7 separate regions of the Homo sapiens genome follow, and all the other regions are linked to region 2. Evidence: promoter capture Hi-C in 16 types of primary human blood cells and fetal thymus (Javierre and others, 2016). All regions are on one chromosome and are shown on one strand. Each heading gives the region's core, a stretch centred on a gene start or on the middle of the fragment in contact. The rest is flanking DNA. Distances are from core to core; before and after follow the strand shown. Region 1 overlaps RNF145 (ring finger protein 145). Region 2 holds the start of CCNG1 (cyclin G1). Region 3 has its middle 8.8 kb from the start of RNF145. Region 4 overlaps UBLCP1 (ubiquitin like domain containing CTD phosphatase 1). Region 5 has its middle 12 kb from the start of TTC1. Region 6 overlaps TTC1 (tetratricopeptide repeat domain 1). Region 7 has its middle 9.5 kb from the start of UBLCP1.

Region 1 (2,700 bases), core at 81-2,580, 4.2 Mb after region 2:
ACTGTCCTTGCAGTTAGGATGTGTAGGAAATCCTCAGTTCTGTTTCTTTAGTCCCAAGCATGCTCATGTTTTCTTAGCTTTTGGCATGATTGATTCAGCATGAGAGAGGCAATAGGGGATAAGTAGGAGTACCTGTGCCTTAATAAAGATTTGTAAATTAAGTGGAAGATGGTTATAGAAGAGTAGACTGGGTCCAGATTGTGTAAGACCAAGAATGTCAGGTTCATAACTTTTAGAGCAGGAGAATTGTCAAGTAAAAGTGATGGTGTTAGGAATATTACCCTGGTAATTAAGTATATCAGGGTGTCCAATCTTTTGGCTTCCCTGGACCACATTAGGAAAATAATTGTCTTGGGCCACACATAAAATATGCTAACACTAGTGATAGCTGATGAGCTTAAAATTGCAAAAAAAAAAAAAAAAACTCATAATATTTTAAGAAAGTTTATGAATTTGTGTTGGGCTGTATTCAAAGCCATCCTGGGCCACATGTAGCCCATGGGCCGTGGGTTGGACAAGCTTGAAGTATAGGGTATACAAAAATAGAGACTGAAAGAAGGATGGTAGTATACTGTGCATTGCAGAGCAGATTAGGATATGGGACATAGAGGTTGGAATGGAAGGGTAACACATGAGAGGAATTTATCATGGAAGGCTCAGCAGGACTTGACGATAAGAGAGAAAAGATGACAGGTTTTGAGTCACTGAGTTACTTTGTTGAGGGAGGAGGTGGGGAGCACAGTTTGTACTTGTTGAATATGAGAACATTTAAGTGGAATATATCTCAGGTGTCATGAGATGGGATGTCTACTTAGATTAAGAAATGAGGATATGTTTTTGCCTGTATAATAAGTTATCAGTAACTTTGTTGATAACATTTATAGAAGAGATGCTGATACTTGAAGTTACAAAATATGTTGTTTGCACTAGGTACTTTATATATAGAGAAAAACAGTTGTTTAGGAACCAAATTTCCAGTGTTTATTGGAAAGCGTGAAAAGAAATTAGAGAAGTTAGAGGGTAAGAGGAAATCCATATGAACAGAGCCAAAGAGTAACAACGTTTTGATGGTCGTTGCCTGGATATTGGGGATCAAAAATAAGCAGGATGTCTTAGATGTGATAAGTAGGCAGTCGTTGACTTCCAACTTTCTTTAGAGCAAACAAGTTAGGGGGGTTTGTAAAGGGATTGTAGATGGTAAAGAGAAGAATAGATGCTTAGAAAATAGAGGCATTGGGTATAGATCTTTTCAAACATTTGACAGTGGAATGAGAAAAATAATAGGAAAAAAATCGCAGTGAAAAGAAGTTTATTTTTTTTTTCTCAAGATGGGTAAAAGCCCTGCACATTCTTTGAAACAAAGGTAAGGAGTGATGTCAGGGGGAACGACTGAAAGTATAGGAGATAGAGAGTCTTCAGGGGTTGGAGAAATAAGGTCTTAAATCACATGGAAGGGGCAGCCTTGGAAAGAGACATTAAGACACCCAGTTTTTCCTCTGGGACTAGAAAGAAAGAGAGAATTGGCATAAAACAAGTAAGTTGATATCAAGGAAAGGTAGATGAAGAAAGGAGTTGTGTTACACATTTGTGTGATATATTTGATTATTAGGTAGAGAAATCTACAAAAGAAGTGAAAAACACAATACATTTTCAACAACAAAAAATCCATAGGGGTGTCACTATGCTAAACTTACTTTGGTAAGTATAATAAAAAACCTCAGAAAGTACTGAAACCTATTTGGAAAATTATTTGTCTCAAGCTCTTTCTTTTATTGTAATTAATTGGGAAACTAAATTAAAATTGTATTTTATTTATCTTTCTGGTACAGGTTATATCTTAAGTGTGGTGCTGCTAACATTGCCCAGGCAGCATCTGGTTCAGCTTTATCTATATTTTTTGACTGCTCTGCTCCTCTATGCTGGACATCAAATTTCCAGGTAAGAATATGACCCCATTTTTGAAATGTATGATTGAATTTAAAGTTTTCTTTTGCCAATAAAATACTTTTCATGAACACTGTTAAGTAAAGCTAAGGCTTTGGTAGGTCCAAAACTGGTTTGATACTCATTTTCCAAATCTTACACAGGATTAATAGCTGGTTTATGCTGACATTTTATTTCTGCTTTTAAAAACAAGCTTAACATGAAACAAGCCTTAAGGTTATGTTTATAAAGATATCCTTGAACTGGCTGGGCGTGGTGGCTCACACCTGTAATCCCAGCGCTTTGGGAGGCGGGTGGATCACCTCAGGTCAGGAGTTCGGGACCAGCCTGGCCAACATGGTGAAACCTCGTCTCTACTAAAAATACAAAAATTAGCCGGGCATGGTGGCGGGCGCCTGTAATCCCATCTACTCGGGAGGATATCCTTGAACTTTCCTGTATTGCCTGATAAAAGAATTTCTAAAAGTAGGCTGTAGGAGCATTTTAACAATTATAGACTTCATTACTTTAGGAAATCAATTTATGATGTGTAAGAATCAGCATAAGATGCAGCCATGTGGAGTGAATGATTGATATACATTATCTTGTAAGGTTGATTGTATAGCTAACCTTCTATCTCTTTAGCCATATTGTCTGTGTACCTAAGTCTGCTAGATCTAAATTTTAAGACTTGGGTCTGCCAATGAATATGAGCTTTCTACTTTGCAACAGAATGTTAAAATATAGGTGGACCAAAAGTTACACTATGAAGTAGTG
Region 2 (2,700 bases), core at 177-2,676:
AGGAGTCTCGCTCTGTTGCCAGGCTGGAGTACAGTGGCACGATCTTGGCTCACTGCAACCTCCGACTCCCTGGTTCAAGCGATTCTCCTGCCTCAGCCTCCCGAGGAGCTGGGATTACAGGCATGCGCCACCGCGCCCAGCTAATTTTTATATTTTTAGTAGAGACGGGGTTTCACCATGTTGGCCAGGATGGTCTCGGTCTCCTGGCCTTGTGATCTGCCCGCCTCGGCCTTCCAAAGTGCCGGGATTACAGGCGTGAGCCACCGCGCCCGGTCGGAACCATGCTTTTTAGAAAAATAAAATGCAAATCTTCAAGAAATACTTGTTCAAGTTATTCACTGTCAATAGATAACCACGAATAAACACCGTAAGACAGGATACCGAAAGTGAAAAGCAGATGGTAGTTAAGTATTCTGCCACATATTAACAAAATGAACTGTTCAAGTTACTTAATTGTACTTAGTTCCACATTGATAAAGTAGGGATAAGGTTTATGACCTACCTCACAGATTTGTGAGTTAAAATGAAATCACGTAAAGAGCTTAGCACATACAGTAGACGCTTAAAAAACACTGAACAATAATAATGAGCTTGAGCTTCTTTCTAGATTTATAAAATGAGGGTAACAATATCTGTCGCTGAATGTGAAGACTGAACAAGATGATTCACCACTTAAAGAGTATAGCACAGTGCTTGGCACACAATACTCAATATTACTTAACTTTTATTGTTGTTAGGAAAGGAAACTTAAAAGGTGACATTAGGAGCACGTATTGGGGCGGGGGGGTGCGGTGGGTTGTTGCTAACCTAGTCTGAAAGATGAACCTGGGAATTCCATTGATTTAAGTGTGCATAACACAACCATGTCCCGGGCACAAGCTAAGCCCTGGATACATGGAAGGTCCCTCCCACACCAACTAAAGACAGGAAGGCAGGAGGTCTTCAGAGCTAGTCATGTGAGGAACCTCTAACTGCAGGGGTTCCATTCTTCCTCCCCAGGCTAGTCCCTGGGACTGGGTCGGCAGACACGAAAGGCACCTCAGGAGGCCGGATCCGGCTCCGCCCCTCCAGCCTCGGACTAGCCTGGGCTTGTGCTCACAACAGCGGTAGAGTTTAGTGTGGAAAAGGGCGCGGGCCAGACCTACTCCTCGCCCCGCGCCCCCAACCCAGCTCCCCACCCGCACCTGGCGGTCAACTCCCGCGCAGTCCCACTCACCTTGACAGAGACTGCAGCTCCTCAGCGGTAACCACCCTCCCCGGGCCTGCTCACCTCACCCCACGATATCAGATCCGAGAGGCCTACGAGGAGAGGGGACTCGTAGGCAAGAGGAGAGAGGCCCGGGGAGGGGGACTGTCCTGGGTGGAGGCCTCGGCAGCGCCGCCGAGACAACTCGGCCCTGATCAGGGTCAGCTCGGAGCCGAAGGGGCCGCGCCTGCCCTAACGAGGAATATATTGGAGGGCGGGGCTTTCTCGCGAGAAGGGGGCATTTTCGCCGCTGATTGGTGTAATTCTTTTGATGGATGGCCTCCGCGATCCGTAAACGGCTGGGCCGTGGAGTGAGAAGTCCGGCCAATCGGCTCACACTTCCCGTTATCTGGCCTCAAATTCCCCGGCCCCCTTCCACGCCCCTACCTCTAAGCGTCTCTCATTGGAGAATTTAACAAAGTGTCTTCATTCAGTAGGGGGCCAAACTAAATACTCGGTGCAGCAACCCTCGCCTGGGTCAGGTCAATCGGCTGCCAGCCGGATTGGCCGGCGTATCATTCCAGAATGTACTGTTTGTTCTGTGGGGTTTAGGAGTTCTACAGTGGTTCTGCCCCATCTTTCTAAAAATACAGTGAGTAGTTAAAAAAAAAAAAGTCAACCTTTGATTTTTAATTACAGATAAAGAGGTGGTGGAATTTATATGGTTTGGTGGTTTATCAACTTCCAGAGTGCTCTCTTCGTGAACTTTGGAAGTCAGTTGATTCTTGCCTTAGTTTGCTTTTTATACAATTTATCAAATAATGGAGTTGGACTGTGTAATTTCTTGACCCTCTACCAATTTTCTGAATTTGCTTTTAAAGCAAATTTAAAGAGAAAAGTTGGTACAATTTTTCAGTTGCTTAAAATGAAAGGTATGTGGCAGACTGTTAACAGGAATAATTGTGGTGAGTGTGAATCTCAGTCTACAGACCCGAGTGTAAAGCAGTATTACTCTTTGTATTTACCATAATGAATTTAATCTCTGTGAGCCTCTCCTATGCCAGATTAGTGGGAAAATAATTAGCCTGAACTCTTCTTAGACTCTCCTCACTCTCACTCTCCCAGATCATCACAAGTGAGAAAAGTCCATTTGTAAAAGGGCCTGAAAAAGGGTGCACAAGGAGTCATTTCTAAACTCTTATGAATTACACAGTAGTTGGATGTCTCTGTTCTCATGGCCCCAGTTCGGTCTCTCTTACTTTGAAAAAGTGAAAATCTGAAAGATTTGCCGTCACTCTGCTATTTGCCCTGCCGTGTACTTACCCAAGGCAATGCCACAGAACAAAACTCTGGAAAGGGGGAAAAGGGGTGGGGAGGAAGGGGAAGGAAAAACAGGAGAAAACATCAATACCTCACAATAATACCTTAGCCACATAATCAGGTCAGTTTAAGAAACTGGGGCTCAAATGGGGAAGAGGCCTTTGTTCCTTTTGAAAATAAAAGCTTACCTAGTG
Region 3 (2,700 bases), core at 76-2,575, 4.2 Mb after region 2:
AGCCACAATTCAAGATGAGATTTGGATGGGGACACAGCCAAACCATATCAGACATCAAAGAAAACTCACAGGGGCCTGGCGCGGTGGCCCACGCCTGTAATCCCAACACTTTGGGAGGCCGAGGTGGGTGGATCACCTGAGGTCAGGAGTTCAAGACCAGCCTGGCCAACATGGTGAAACCCCATCTCTACTAAAAATACAAAAATTAGCTGGGAGTGGTGGCGCATGACTGTAGTTCCAGCTACTCAGGAGGCTGAGGCAGAATCGCTTGAACCCAGGAGGCAGAGGTTGCAGTGAGCCGAGATCATGGCACTCCACTCCAGCATGGGCAACAAAGTGAGCCTTTGTCTCAAAAAACAAAAACAAAAACAAAAACAAAGATAACTCACAGGGAAGATTCCTGAAGTGTTATTGTCTTTTGTTTATATAGTCATTTCAGGTAAAATAATCGTTCATTCATTACTAAGGAGACACCAGTGGGGCTTGAGTTCTACACTCTGTGAACAAACTCATCATCTATCCTGGCATTATCAGTGGGACAGGAAGCAGGTGCAGCATAATGGGGGATATACACATAGAACCCTGACAAGTCTGGGTTGTATCTGAGTTCTGCTGCTGCTAGCTGCGTGACTCTGGACAAGTTACTTGACCTCTCTATGCCTCAGTTCTCTCATTTTTAGAATGGCAATAATTATACTATCTACTTCATAGGTTTTTCATGATAATTAAATGTGATAATTCATGTAAACTACCTAGTACAGGACCTAAAACATAGTAAATGCCCTAAATGTTACTCTTCTAAGTCAACTCCTCAGCATTTAACTGATTTCTGTGTTAAAGTCCAAACTCCTTCGCATGGCATGAAAAGTCCCTCCTTAACTCCTGGACTGGCCCCAGCTTACCTCATCTTTCCCCCCATTCCCTCTGTAAATCTGAGATCCAATCATAATTGTTTTGCATATCCTTTCTTATATGAACTTTACACTCTGGAAGTAACTCGGAAGATTTGTGATGCAATCAAAATGCAATCTGATTTTATCACTCACTATCCCTTTAAGTATTCAGAAGGAGTAATTTTTTTCTGCCTTCCAGTGGAAACTTGGACAGATATCAAGAATTCTTAATTAGTGGGCACTCCTACTCACTTTAAGTAAAAAATCAGTCTGGCTTTGGTAATTAGAAATGTGTCAAGATATTAATTAAATGCCTCAATCTCCATCCAAAAAGTGAGAGTTCTCTGCACTTGTGAGGGCCTGTGGTCACCTTATGCTCTCTCTCCCCCACTTAAATCCTTCCCAGGCACCAGCAGCTGCATCAGACCCCACCTGGGCAGAAGCCAGCTAAGGCAGTGCAGGTTGCTGGTGGTCTTCAGGTTGTCTGCATCTGGCAGGTGCCTAAACTTGATTCTTTCACTTCTGGGTGCACGTCTTTTTTTTTTTTTTTTTAATATATAGCAGTTTATTAAAAAGAATATATGGATACGCAGCGGTAAGTGACATAATTGATAAAAGAGGACCCACAATATCACTGATTCTCCTATTACTCCATGAAACTACTCCATGCAGTGATTTACAAGGGACCCTGGTTTGCAGGGTGCACAAGTTGCTTCACATTATAGAATATATAACACATAGGAGTTGTAATTTCATATAATCTGAACAATTGGCACCACTGTTACTGGTATCTTAACTGGTAGAAGCTAGCTGGCTTTTTATAACTGATCAACTATTGTGAGAAGCTGTTGACTCTCCATGGGTTGTTTGAAGATTTTTTTTTCTTTTTTTGAGACTGGGTCTGGCTTTTTTGTGCAGGCTGGAATGCAGTGGCGTGATCTCGGCTCACTGCAACCTCCGCCTCCTGGGCTGAAGCCATCGTCCCACCTCAGACTCCTGAATAGTTGGGAGGGACTACAGGTGCATGCCACCATGTCTGGCTAATATTTTTATTTTTTTTTAGTAGAGATGGGTTTTCGCCATGTTGGTCAGGCTGGTCTCAAACTCCTGACCTCAGGTGATCCACCCACCTTGGCCTCCCAAAGTACTGGGATTACAGGCGTGAGCCACCATGCCCGGCCACGCCCAGCTAATTTTTGTATTTTCAGTAGACACAGGGTTTCACCATGGTGGTCAGGCTGGTCTTGAACTCCTGACCTCAGGTGATCCACCCACCTTGGCCTCCCAAAGTGCTGGGATTATAGGTGTGAGTCAGCACCCGTTCAGCTGACTCCTATGCATTTTTCAACACTCAGAATATCTCTCCCCATCCCCTCAAGAACCCACAAATGGGCTAATCCCACCCACTTCACACTATTTGCATTTTCATGGTAACATTTTCTCACCTCTATCACAACTAACCCACACCACTTTGTATATCTGTGATAACCAACCCACATCATTTATGTGTCTGCCCCCACTCTAAGACATTGGAAGGTCTTGGGGTCAGAGACTCTTGAGATTTACTGTTACATCCTCAAAGCCTAACATACAATAAAATGCAAATTTCCGGCCTGTGGGGTGGCTCACACCTGTAATCCCAGCACTTTGGGAGGCTGAGATGGGGGGATTACTTGAGGTCAGGAGTTTGAGACCAGCCTGGATAACATGGTGAAACCCCATCTCTACTAAAAATACAAAAATTAGCTGGACATGGCAGTGGGCAACTATAATCCCAGCTACTTGGGAGGCTGAGGCAGGAGAATCG
Region 4 (2,700 bases), core at 120-2,619, 4.2 Mb after region 2:
CAGTAGATACTTAATAGTATGAGTAGTTACTTGATGAGTAAAATAACTGGTTAGCCAAACCCTTTTCTCTGATTGTTCTTGTTGCTATTCTTCAGCATCATCCCAAAGTACATGCATCATGATGCATCTGCTTTTATTACCAGTTTCAAACAGGGCAGGGTGAGTGTTTTCGCTTGTTTCTAGTATCTTCCTTGATAATATTCAGTATTTTTCTCACCTACTCTGCCCAGTAACATTGTGCTGTCATCAACACAGGTCAATTACCCACAATCACAAGTTCCTTTCTTGACAGTCCTACTTCAAGATCCCTAATTTTATCATTAAAATTCAAATCTTTTAACCTTGGCTGGGCACAGTGGCTCACGCCCATAATCCCAGCACTTTGGGAGGCCGAGGCAGGCGGATCACGAGGTCAGGAGATCGAGACCATCCTGGCTAACAACAGTGAAACTCCGTCTCTACTGAAAATACGAAAAAATTAGCCGGGCGTGGTGGCGGGTGCCTGTAGTCCCAGCTACTCAGGAGGCTGAGGCAGGAGAATGGCGTGAACCTGGGAGGCGGAGCTTGCGTGAGCGAGATTGCACCACTGCACTCCAGCCTGGGCGGCACAATGAGACTCCATCTCAAAAAAAAAAAAAAAAAAAAAAAAAAATCTTTTAACCTTAAATACATTTTCCTATGTCAAAACTCAACCACTTTATTATTCACTCAGATGAATCTCTACACTATTTACTCCATAGGTATAAACATAAAAAGTACACTGGAAAATAACCATGGTGTCATTAAATAGAAATAAAATGACTTCTTACGTCTATTAATCCTCTCCTTGGAGTATGTACTGTTATCATAGCAGCACTATCCAACATGAAAGTAATCTTATAATTTGCATTTGTGCTCACTCCCAGCTCCTATAAACACAAATATTTGTGAGGTTAAAACATAGTAGTGTGGAAAATTTCAGATTTTCTGAATATTCTAGCTGCAATTTCTCATAATGCCAACTTTCTACACCACTGGCCACTACATCTTGCTAAACAACTAGGAAGTATTTTAGTTTCACTTAGCCAAGTCAATAAATGGTAAACCAAGGAAAATAGAAATAGATTACTTCCTAATTTACCATTTTAGGAGAATACTGACTCTTTAAGTATTGCACACTAGAGCAAAAGAAGGAAAATAAAGTATTATTGTAAAATGAGGAAGAATGTGGGGGAGGGGACAAGCTTAGTTATACTTTTTCTTAAAAAAGACTTAGGGATTCAGTACAATCCACTTATTAAACACACTTTAAAAACACCTCTACTCCCAATAATGGCATTTATCTATCTACTAAGTGCCCTCCAGTAAGAATAAAATTAATTCAGTTCTAGAACTTTTAACAAGACAAATGCAGTTTGAAAATATTTTTAAATGGATTGCTTTCTAACACTTACTTTCATTTTAGCTTCAATCCACTTCATATTTGTTGCAGCTAAAACACGAGGAATGATAATACAATACATATGAAAAGCTTGAATTTCTTTAAAAAAAATCTGTATAAGTAAGTTTTCTAAGCAAAACTAAAAGTTTAAATGCATCAGAATTAACAGTCCCTAGCATACTTATGGTAATTTTCTTTTAAATATTGATAAAAGTAAACTTACTGCAGTGTGTCTTCAAGACAGAATAAATTTTAAACAACTTTTATCTGTAAGATACAGGTAATCCATGCTCAAAAGAACTCTGAACCTAGGAAATTTATAAATCAAGACCTAAACTCTCTTTTTAAATCAGCCCTGACACTCTATCAATTCCAAACTTAAACTTGGGTGCCTGGATCACTTTTTTCCATGTTCCTACTTCTAGGCAATGCACAGGTATACATAGTGTCAATATAAGCATATTGTTATGTGTCAAAAGTTTATGTTGAAAACCAGCTAGTCAGGTTCAGTGAAAATCTGCATTTTGTCAGTCTCAGCAAATTAAAGCTCACTGAGTCTAGCAGCTTCTAACAAGAAATGAGACAAATTCATGAAGTATACCTGCATCATGTATCTGCTCATTGTCAGACATTAACCAGCTTTGAGATCATTAATACTAAAATTAAATCCTCATCTTTATGTGCTCTCCTGGTTTACTGGACTAAACTATACAGGTATAACCAAGTAAAATGTTTAAAAAGAGAAAAAGCAATTTAATTATTTGAAGTGTGTGTGTGTGTGTGTGTGTGTGTGTGTGTGTGATTTTTAAAAGCAAAAGAGGAACCTGAGTTCTCAAAATAAAAAATCTTCAGCATGCACACATACAAAAAAACAGAAGAATCACCTTACACGTACAAAACTGGTCAGTTGAGCTAAAATTTTAAAGACTATTGTATCTCCAATGAAAATAATCATAAGATAGAAAAAAATTTTAATCCGGTACTTACTTTGTATCTGTAATTATCAGACGAAAAACAAAAAGACCCACAGCTAATAAAAAGTTTCTAATTATTAAGTAACTATATGTCAGACATAGTACTAGTTGCTATATTGATACTTCTATTCTTACAACTAACCTGTAATATGTATTTAGATATCTTCATTTCTCAAGTGAGGGAACTAAGGCTCAGAAAGATTAAGTGACCTGTCCAGTGTCACACAGTAAGAACAGAGCCAGAATTAAAATCCTAGTCTATTTAGCTCCAAAGTGAAGTACTCTTTTCAATGAACTACCACAAAA
Region 5 (2,700 bases), core at 78-2,577, 3.4 Mb after region 2:
AAGAATATAGTAAGACTCAACATTCACTCAGCACTACAGAAGCCGATCCTGTGTAATTGAAAATGCGTAAGCTCTGCATTCGTGTGTGCTTACATGAAGATTACTTTGGTTCCCCTAACAGCTCTGAGCTAGACAAAGCAAGTATTACTTCCATTTTACCGAAGAGAAACTGAGGAAATTGAGAGCTGAAAGGACTTGATCAGGAAGACCACGATAGCTTATGACAGAGTTATATTTATAGCCGGAGGGACAAAGAGATCTCTGTCCAGTTCTTCATCTCATTTGTTCTATGAACTCCTTTGGTGGGCTGCTGAAGCCTCTGGATCGCTTCTCAGAGAAATTTTTTTAAATGCATAAAACAAAATATACTGGAATATGAAGGAAATAAATTATATTGAAATACAGTTCCTATAATACTAACAATAAAATTAGCAAGATATATATATCTACGTATCTACATATTCTGTTTGTCTACACACACACTCCTTTTTATTAACACATTAAGTATAGCAGGTGTAATAACTACCACAATTTTGAAGTAGTGATGAGTATATTCAATATTTCAAGTCATCTGAAACAACTGTAATATGCTATGAAATATCTGATATTCTTTTGGTGATAAAGTCAAAAGCTCTGCTAATATTACTATGTTCTATTGGCTAAGTTCATAAAAGAAGGAAAAACTAAATTTCAGTTAAAAGTTAGAGGCCAGGCGCGGTGGCTTACGCCTGTAATCCTAGCACTTTGGGAGGCCGAGGCAGGAGGATCACCTGAGGTCGGGAGTTTGAGGCCAGCCCGGCCAACATGGTGAAACCCCATCTCTACTGAAAATACAAAAATTAGCCAGGCGGGGTGGTGGTCATCTGTAATCCTGGCTACTTGGGAGGCTGAGGCAGGAGAATTGCTTAAAACTGGGAGGCAGAGGTTGCAGTGAGCCGAGATTGGGCCACTGCACTCCAGCCTGGGTGACAGTGCAAGACTCTGTCTCAAAAAAAAAAAAAAGTTAGTGAAGATAAGAATGTAATTTTCCCCCTATCTAAAGTCATGACCCTTCCCTCTAAATTTTATCCATTGTCCCTTTAGGGGTTTGTAGATCTCAAGTTAGGAACTCCTTATCTAGTCCAATCCCTCATAAAGCAGATGAACAAATGAGGTCCAGAGAGGGAATGTGATTTATCTAAGACATTTTAGCCACATAGCAGGGAATAAACTAGAACCCAGAGGTTGGTAATTCCTTCTCTATAAGGCTGTTATGAGGAATAAATGTAACAATATATGTAAAATCTTAGCACAGTACCAGTGACACAATAGGCATTTGTAGAAAACTGGCCACACAACACAGTAGAAGCAGAGAGATGAGACTTTCTGGAAATCTCTGTAACAGAGGGCAAACTCAGCTGTATGTGTCTTTTTGTTTGTTTTTATTTGATTTCAAAAATTCTTTTTGCCACACTGGAGGAGAATGTTTGTTTGTTTGTTTTTAGACAGTCTCACTTTGTCACCCAGGCTGGATTGCAGTGGCACGATCTTGGCTCACTGCAACCTCCGCCTCCTGGGTTCAAGCGATTCTCCTGCCTCAGCCTCCCAAGTAGCTGGGATTACAGGCACCCGTTACCATGCCCGGCTGATTTTTGTATTTTTCGTAGAGACAGGGTTTCACCATGTTGCCAGGCTGGTCTCGAACTTCTGACCTCAGGTGATCCACTGGCCTCAGCCTCCCAAAGTGCTGGGATTACAGGCATGAGCCACCACACCTGGCCAGTTTGTTTGTTTTTATAGACAGAGTCCCACTCTGTTGCCCAGCCTGCAGTGCAGTGGTGCAATCATAGTTCACAGCAACCTGCAGCTCCTGGGCTCAAGTGATCCTCTTGCCTCAGTCTCCTGAGTAGCTGGGACTATAGGGGCGTACCACCATGCCTGGATAATTTTTTGTTTTTAAATTTCTTTGTAGAGGGGATCTTGCTATGCAGTCCAGGCTGGTCTCAAACTCCTGGGCTCAAGCAACCCTCCCACCTTGGTCTCCTGAGTGGCTGGGATTGCAGGTATAAGCCACCACACCTGGCCCTGTATGTGCCTTTTGTCTTTGCCATATTTCTTCCTGCCTGGAAGAGGGACATTATGGCCACATTTTAAGGACAGAGTAGGGAAACACTAGAAGGGCCATGGGCCTCTCCTGACAGTGTGGATTTGCCATACTATCCCCACTGTCCCCAGACTGCCTACTTCCAGACTTCTCATATGAGAGAAAAAATAAACAAACAGCCCTTTTTGATTTGTTCAAGCCACTGTTATGTGTGTTCTGTTATGTGCAGCCAAACTCACTCCCCTAACTGATACACAGCTCTTCCTGGCTGGGTGACTTACTCTCTCTGAGCCCTAAGTCCTTCATTTAAGGTTTTTTGGTGAGGATTAGAAGATACAGAGGACTTAGGCAGTGCCTGGCACAGCAAAAAGCAGCTATTATTATTATTACTGTTTCAGTGGATTGCAGTTCAGTGCTCTTTCTACCAAATTGACTCACAGCTTAAAAATCACTCACACAGACTCAAAATCCCATTAAGCCCTCCCCAACCCCAGCCCGCTTTCTCCAGCTGCAGCTTTGGTCCACTGCCTCAAAGTCAGCCTGAGGAAATACTTACCATGTCCCAGGGAGAGGAACAGTTTATGAAAATGCTGACACAGACGAAACACCTAATAATT
Region 6 (2,700 bases), core at 45-2,544, 3.4 Mb after region 2:
GTTGAAGGGAGCTGCCCTGCCCCTGCTGCCATGTAGGGACACAAATGGTGCCATCTGTAAGGAAGAGGCCCTCACCAGACACTAAAATTGCTGGCACCTTGATCTTGGACTTCTCAGCCTCCAGAATTATGAGCAATAAATTTCTATTATTTATAAGTTATCCAGTCTAAGGTATTTTGTTATAGCAGCTCCAACACACTAAGATAGAATTTTTGTATCATAATGTTATTATTGCAATTCTCTTCTGCTGCTACATTTGTCCTTCACCTTAGCCAAGCCTCTCAGAACCAGTTATTTGCTTCACATACCTAGTACATCTCAAATGTTAGCTAAAATTCCATTCCTGTGGGTAGTTATATCTACATTTAAGCTTTCACAAATAGTTAAGATTTACTGCTGAAATAAACACACGAATACACTATACTCTCTGAGAGCTTTTCCTGTTTTTACCAAATCTTAACTGCTTTCCTCCTCAATTATTCTTGATTTATGAGTCCTGCTGAGAAGTGACACTACACTTGAGCGTGAATTATCTTCCCAGCCACAGGACAAGTGAAGTTAGCTTGATTAACAGACTTTGGCTACTATTATTTGGTTGTGTCCAACAAGAAACCTTTAATACTACATAGACCCTGTACGGAATAGCACTTCTTTCCCAAATCATCAGGGGTCAGCTTCATGTGCTTTTGTGGTAGGGCACACAGTTTGGTTGTAAAGTAATCAATTTTTATTTATTTATATTCTTAAAATGGAATAATGTAATACAGGCTTACTGAAAAAAAAAGCAAATATTACAAAATTGCATTACATATAAATTAAAATTCCCTAATAATCATACCTCTCAAAGTTACTTACTGCTTATACTTTGGTGTATATCCTTCAAATTTGTATGTATAAACATATTTTCACATAGCCTTAAAAGAAATCATCACTGTTGTATAACCTGATTAATTAATTTGACATTATATTACAGGCAGCTTCCCAGGTCAATACCTACGATTCATCTTTTTAAAAAAATTTTTTAAATTATTTATTTATTTATTGAGACAGAGTCTCATTCTGTCACCCAGGCTGGAGTGCAGTGGCGTGATCTCGGCTCTCTGCAACCTCCGCCTCCTAGGTTCAAGCAATTCTCGTGCCTCAGCCTTCTAAGTAGCTGGGACTATAGGTGTGCACCGCCATACCTGGCTAATTTTTGTATTTTTAGTAGAGATGGGGTTTCACCATGTTGGCCAGGCTGGTCTTGAATTCCTGGTCTTGAGTGGTCTGCCCACCTTGGCCTCCCAAAGTGCTGGGATTATAGGCATGAGCCACTGCACCCGGCCAAGATTTACCTTTAACAACTGCATTGTATACTACATAAATATAACAACAAAATTTAAGTAATACTCTGGGAAGAACACATTTTTCTCTCCTACTATACCCTCCCAATAGGTCTGACACCAGATGAGAGTGTTTTCCACACTAAACAATTCTCCAATGGACACCAACGGAGTGTCCTATAATTCAATTCAGTTCTGTCACTATCTCCAGGTAGACAGTGTCTGATCCCACAGGTTAAGAGTTTAGTCTCATAAGCCTGGCCCCACTTCAGACACTAATCACAAGTCCCAGGTTGTGACCTATGATTCCGACTGAATGGTTAGCACAGGGTTCTTACCACCCTCTCTGTGGGTTCAATAATTTGCTAGAATGGCTCACAGAACTCTGGGAAACACTTTACTTACACTTAGTAGTTTATTACAAAGGACATTATGAATGATATAGAACAGCCAGGTGAAGAGACACACAGGGAAAGGTAGAGGGAGAAGGGGTGCAGAGCTGCCACGCCCTCTCTGGGTGCTACCCTCTTAACACTTCCATGTGCTCATCAACCTGGAAGCTCATCAGATTTCTAGTTCAAGAGTTTTTATAGGCCAGGCGCAGCAGCTCACACCTGTAATCCTAGCACTGTGGGAAGCTGAGATGGGAATATTGCTTGAGTCCAGGAGTTCGAGACCAGCCTGGGCAACATAGTAAGACTTCATTTCAAACACAAAAAAATTTAGCAAGGTGTGGTGGAAGGCGCCTGTGGTCCCAGCCACTTGGGACATTGATGTAGGAGGATTGCTTGAGCCCAGGAGGTTGAAGCCTCCAGTGAACTATGATCGCACCTCTGCACTCCAGCCTGGGCAACAGAGCGAGACTTGGCTCAAAACACAAGAAGAAAAAAGCTTTAATGGAGCTTAATCTCCAGCACTTGCCCTCCTCCTTTCCTGGATTTTGGTAGGTGGTGCCAAAAGTTCCAACCCTCTAAAACTCTAATCACTTAGTCTTTTTGGTGACTGGCCCCATCCTTCCTTAGGCTATAGATAGGCCAGATCCTAAAAGTTATCTCATTAGGATGAACTCAGGTGTTATCAAAAGGGGTACATTAAGAATAACAAAAAAATACACTACACTATCAGAAAATTCCAAGGGTTCTAGTGGCTCTGTAACAGGAACCAGGGACAAAGACCAAATAAATTTACTATACTACAAATACCCTGTTTAACATTGTCTAGCTTTCCAAAATTATGAATGATGCTGCAACACATCTATGTATATACATTTGTGTATATTTCTAATAATTTCCTTGAAATAAATGGCTACAAGAGAATCAGCGTTAATGCTGTCATGTCCAATATGGTACTTACTAGCCACATGTGACGATTTTAAAAT
Region 7 (2,700 bases), core at 107-2,606, 4.2 Mb after region 2:
TGGGGGAAACCACTCCGATGATCCAATCACCTCCTACCAGGACCCTCCCTTGACATGTGGGAATTATGGGAATTACAATTCAAGATAAGATTTGGATGGGGACACAGACAAACTATGTCATCATGTAGATACCCACTGTCTTGCACCTATCAAAACTGCAGACTCTCAGAAGGAAAGCAGCTGTGCAGCAGAAGCTACATTGTTTGCCAACAGTCTAGTCTCAGTGAGCCATTCTTATCATTTGGGGAAAGTTTCATATCTGTATAGGAACTGTAGGATGTTCCCAGATGCCAGCCAAAGACCAATCTTGCAAGCAAGAATTTCTAAGGATGGCAGGCTTAGGCCTCCCATGGTAACTTTTCTGCATATGTGGTTATTAACTAAATGTTTTCTGCCTTACCAGGCTGTTCCTTTCCTGGTCCTTTGTCTAGAGACAGCAGGCTTGGGGTAGGGATGGGGGAGTGTTACATGAACCCCCTGGCATTTCTAGGTTGCCTGTATTGCCAGTACGTAGTCTGGGATATATGAAACAAAAAGAAATCCCAAGGAATTTGCTAGCATGTTTTTTAAGGTAAATAGCCAATCTGCCTTATTTCTACCTTCCAGAGTCCCCTTATATTTATTTTACATATACTGTCCAGGATTTTTAGCTATACTTAGCAGAAGAATAGGGAGACGTGCAACTGGAACTGTCTTGGAACTGGAAATCTCTGTATTACTTTTACAATGAGAAAAAAAGGCATTTTTTTGTTTTCGTTTTGAAAACAAAACATATCTATATATGACACAGCAAACAAAACAAAACAAAATAAATGAATAAATATGATATAGCAAGCTTAACCTAAATATAGGGCTGAAAAGTTACCAACAGGAGTGAAAAACATTATCATGACTTGATTCCACTTATTCTAACAGTAAAATGCATTTTCTCTCATTTATAAAAATAACATGTACTCGGCTGGGCGCTGTGGCTGACGCCTGTAATCCCAGCAGTTTGGGAGTCTGAGTTGGGTGGATCACCTGAGGTCAGGAATTTGAAACCAGCCTGGCCAACATGGTGAACCCCATCTCTACAAAAAATACAAAAAATTAGCTGGGCGTGGTGGCAGGCACCTGTAATCCCAGCTACTCAGGAGGCTGAGGCAGGAGAATAGCTTGAACCCAGGAGGGAGAGGTTGCAGTGAGCCAAGATTGTGCCATTGCACTACAGCCTGGGCAACAAGAGCGAAACTCCGTCTCAAAAATACAAAATAATAATAATAATAATATGTACTCATTATAAAAAACTGATTCTACTTTTCTTTGACACAGGTGGTTAATATATTAGTTTTCTTTATTTAGTAAACAAAATGAAAACTTCAAAGTTAGTAAAGATTGCAGGGTGGCAGAATATCTACATTCATTTAATTTCATTATCATTTATAGAGAAGAATATAGAGTAGAAATTTTCCCACAGTCAAAGGGTGGAACAGACCTTCCATAGATGTCCCATGCACAGTTTTAATAGGAACAATAAAATGTGTGCTTCTCTTTTATATCCAAAGTCTTGTGCATTAGAGATAGTATCTTCTTACTTATGGAATAATAATTACAATGTCCCAACCCACAAATTCTAGGCTAATGAAACTATTTCTGAGATGAAAATTTTAGCATAATATATTGCTGCCTAATCACATTCACTATGAAATCTTAAAAAAGAACATCAAATTGTTATGTTGTAGTATTTAACATTATGAAGTAATTTCATTTATTTGTTTTTTTACATCCACAGTGACTCATAAGTGAATAAATTAATATCTCCCATGCTTCAAAAAATATCAATGAAATGTTTAGACAGTTACAATCTAAACATTTACAACACAACAAGGCAAGCTTTGATTACCAATAAGCTATCTGTAATGACTAGGCTACCTTGTTTTATTCATTATGCTTCCAATCTTCAGGAGACATTTCTTTAACAATGTGTTTATTTCCAAAGAGCATTAGACAGGGTTCTAGAAGCAGCCTTGCCTAAAATTGCCCTCCTGACCTTGAGGCAATCAATTTCCCCTGACCTCAATTCCATTTGTAAAAATGAGTTTATTGAATAGCCAAAAGACAAAAAGATAAATACGTTCTGTGTTTCAGAGCCTCTATGGTTTAATAGTTCTCAGACAACAGCCTATGGGCCTGGGCTAGATTTTGACAGTTTCCATCAATCTTCCGTTTGCAAAATGAGAAACATAAGCATCACGTAATCCGTAAAACCAAATGGAAAATTCATGTTCTTCCTCTTTATTGACAGCTATTATTACTTCCCTGATATCTGCATATATCTCTCCTGGAATTTTCAGAGCTTCATCATTCATACTTAAATAAATTTTATAGAAAATTTACATTTAGTATGTAGAATTTTATTGAAAACATCAAAGTAGTAATTTTTTTCTTGCTACTGTATAAATATTACCTCAAGTGACTTGTTTTGAAATATTATTTATGGTTTTAAATAACAGAAACTTAAACATGCTAGCTTGAGCCTAAAGGGAGTTGAGGAGAGGAAGCAGGAGAGCAGTATTAGAAAGAGCACAGTACCAGACACAGTTATGCCTGTCGTTGAACCAGGAGTCAAGGTGAGTCCAAGATCCTCAACAATAAATTCTAGATCCATAGACCTTCTCTCAAGAACACTGCCATTCATATGACTCTGACTCCTAGTTTCTG

The links. The method cuts DNA at HindIII sites, captures the fragments that hold promoters and counts their contacts. A CHiCAGO score of 5 or more calls a contact.
Region 1: a fragment that was not itself captured here is called in contact with the fragment with the promoter of CCNG1 in region 2 in 2 of 17 cell types (non-activated CD4 T cells and total CD8 T cells); the score reaches 5.3 in non-activated CD4 T cells.
Region 3: a contact is called between a fragment that was not itself captured here and the fragment with the promoter of CCNG1 in region 2, in 1 of 17 cell types (total CD8 T cells). The highest score is 5.3, in total CD8 T cells.
Region 4: a fragment that was not itself captured here is called in contact with the fragment with the promoter of CCNG1 in region 2 in 1 of 17 cell types (total CD8 T cells); the score reaches 8.1 in total CD8 T cells.
Region 5: a fragment that was not itself captured here is called in contact with the fragment with the promoter of CCNG1 in region 2 in 2 of 17 cell types (naive CD8 T cells and non-activated CD4 T cells); the score reaches 10.4 in naive CD8 T cells.
Region 6: a contact is called between a fragment that was not itself captured here and the fragment with the promoter of CCNG1 in region 2, in 3 of 17 cell types (activated CD4 T cells, fetal thymus and total CD4 T cells). The highest score is 10.3, in activated CD4 T cells.
Region 7: a contact is called between a fragment that was not itself captured here and the fragment with the promoter of CCNG1 in region 2, in 1 of 17 cell types (total CD8 T cells). The highest score is 8.3, in total CD8 T cells.

The regions. Positions count from the first base shown.
Region 1 is chr5:159,193,954-159,196,653 of GRCh38, reverse strand. It overlaps RNF145 (ring finger protein 145), which reads left to right. Exons shown (of 11, transcript NM_001199383.2): 3 at 1,830-1,938. Among named protein-coding and RNA genes, the nearest start is that of RNF145, 14 kb to the left of the region's middle. The HindIII fragment of the contact is 1,618 bases long and covers 522-2,139 here.
Region 2 is chr5:163,436,321-163,439,020 of GRCh38, reverse strand. CCNG1 (cyclin G1) reads right to left here and starts at 1,426. Exons shown (of 7, transcript NM_004060.4): 1 at 1,217-1,426. It also overlaps a transcript of LOC105377700 not described here. RefSeq lists enhancers at 862-1,061, 753-1,330, 1,772-1,821 and a silencer at 1,502-1,581. The HindIII fragment of the contact is 4,161 bases long and covers 1-2,691 here.
Region 3 is chr5:159,217,052-159,219,751 of GRCh38, reverse strand. No RefSeq gene overlaps it. Among named protein-coding and RNA genes, the nearest start is that of RNF145, 8.8 kb to the right of the region's middle. The HindIII fragment of the contact is 6,206 bases long and covers 1-2,700 here.
Region 4 is chr5:159,273,356-159,276,055 of GRCh38, reverse strand. UBLCP1 (ubiquitin like domain containing CTD phosphatase 1) reads right to left here. Exons shown (of 11, transcript NM_145049.5): 7 at 1,434-1,471; 8 at 810-908. Among named protein-coding and RNA genes, the nearest start is that of UBLCP1, 11 kb to the right of the region's middle. The HindIII fragment of the contact is 287 bases long and covers 1,226-1,512 here.
Region 5 is chr5:159,996,023-159,998,722 of GRCh38, reverse strand. No RefSeq gene overlaps it. Among named protein-coding and RNA genes, the nearest start is that of TTC1, 12 kb to the left of the region's middle. The HindIII fragment of the contact is 3,133 bases long and covers 1-2,700 here.
Region 6 is chr5:160,014,721-160,017,420 of GRCh38, reverse strand. All of the region lies in intron 2 of TTC1 (tetratricopeptide repeat domain 1), which reads right to left. LOC124901124 (a long non-coding RNA gene) reads right to left here. Exons shown (of 2, transcript XR_007059025.1): 1 at 1-2,700. Among named protein-coding and RNA genes, the nearest start is that of TTC1, 6.9 kb to the right of the region's middle. The HindIII fragment of the contact is 1,843 bases long and covers 373-2,215 here.
Region 7 is chr5:159,252,463-159,255,162 of GRCh38, reverse strand. No RefSeq gene overlaps it. Among named protein-coding and RNA genes, the nearest start is that of UBLCP1, 9.5 kb to the left of the region's middle. The HindIII fragment of the contact is 1,037 bases long and covers 838-1,874 here.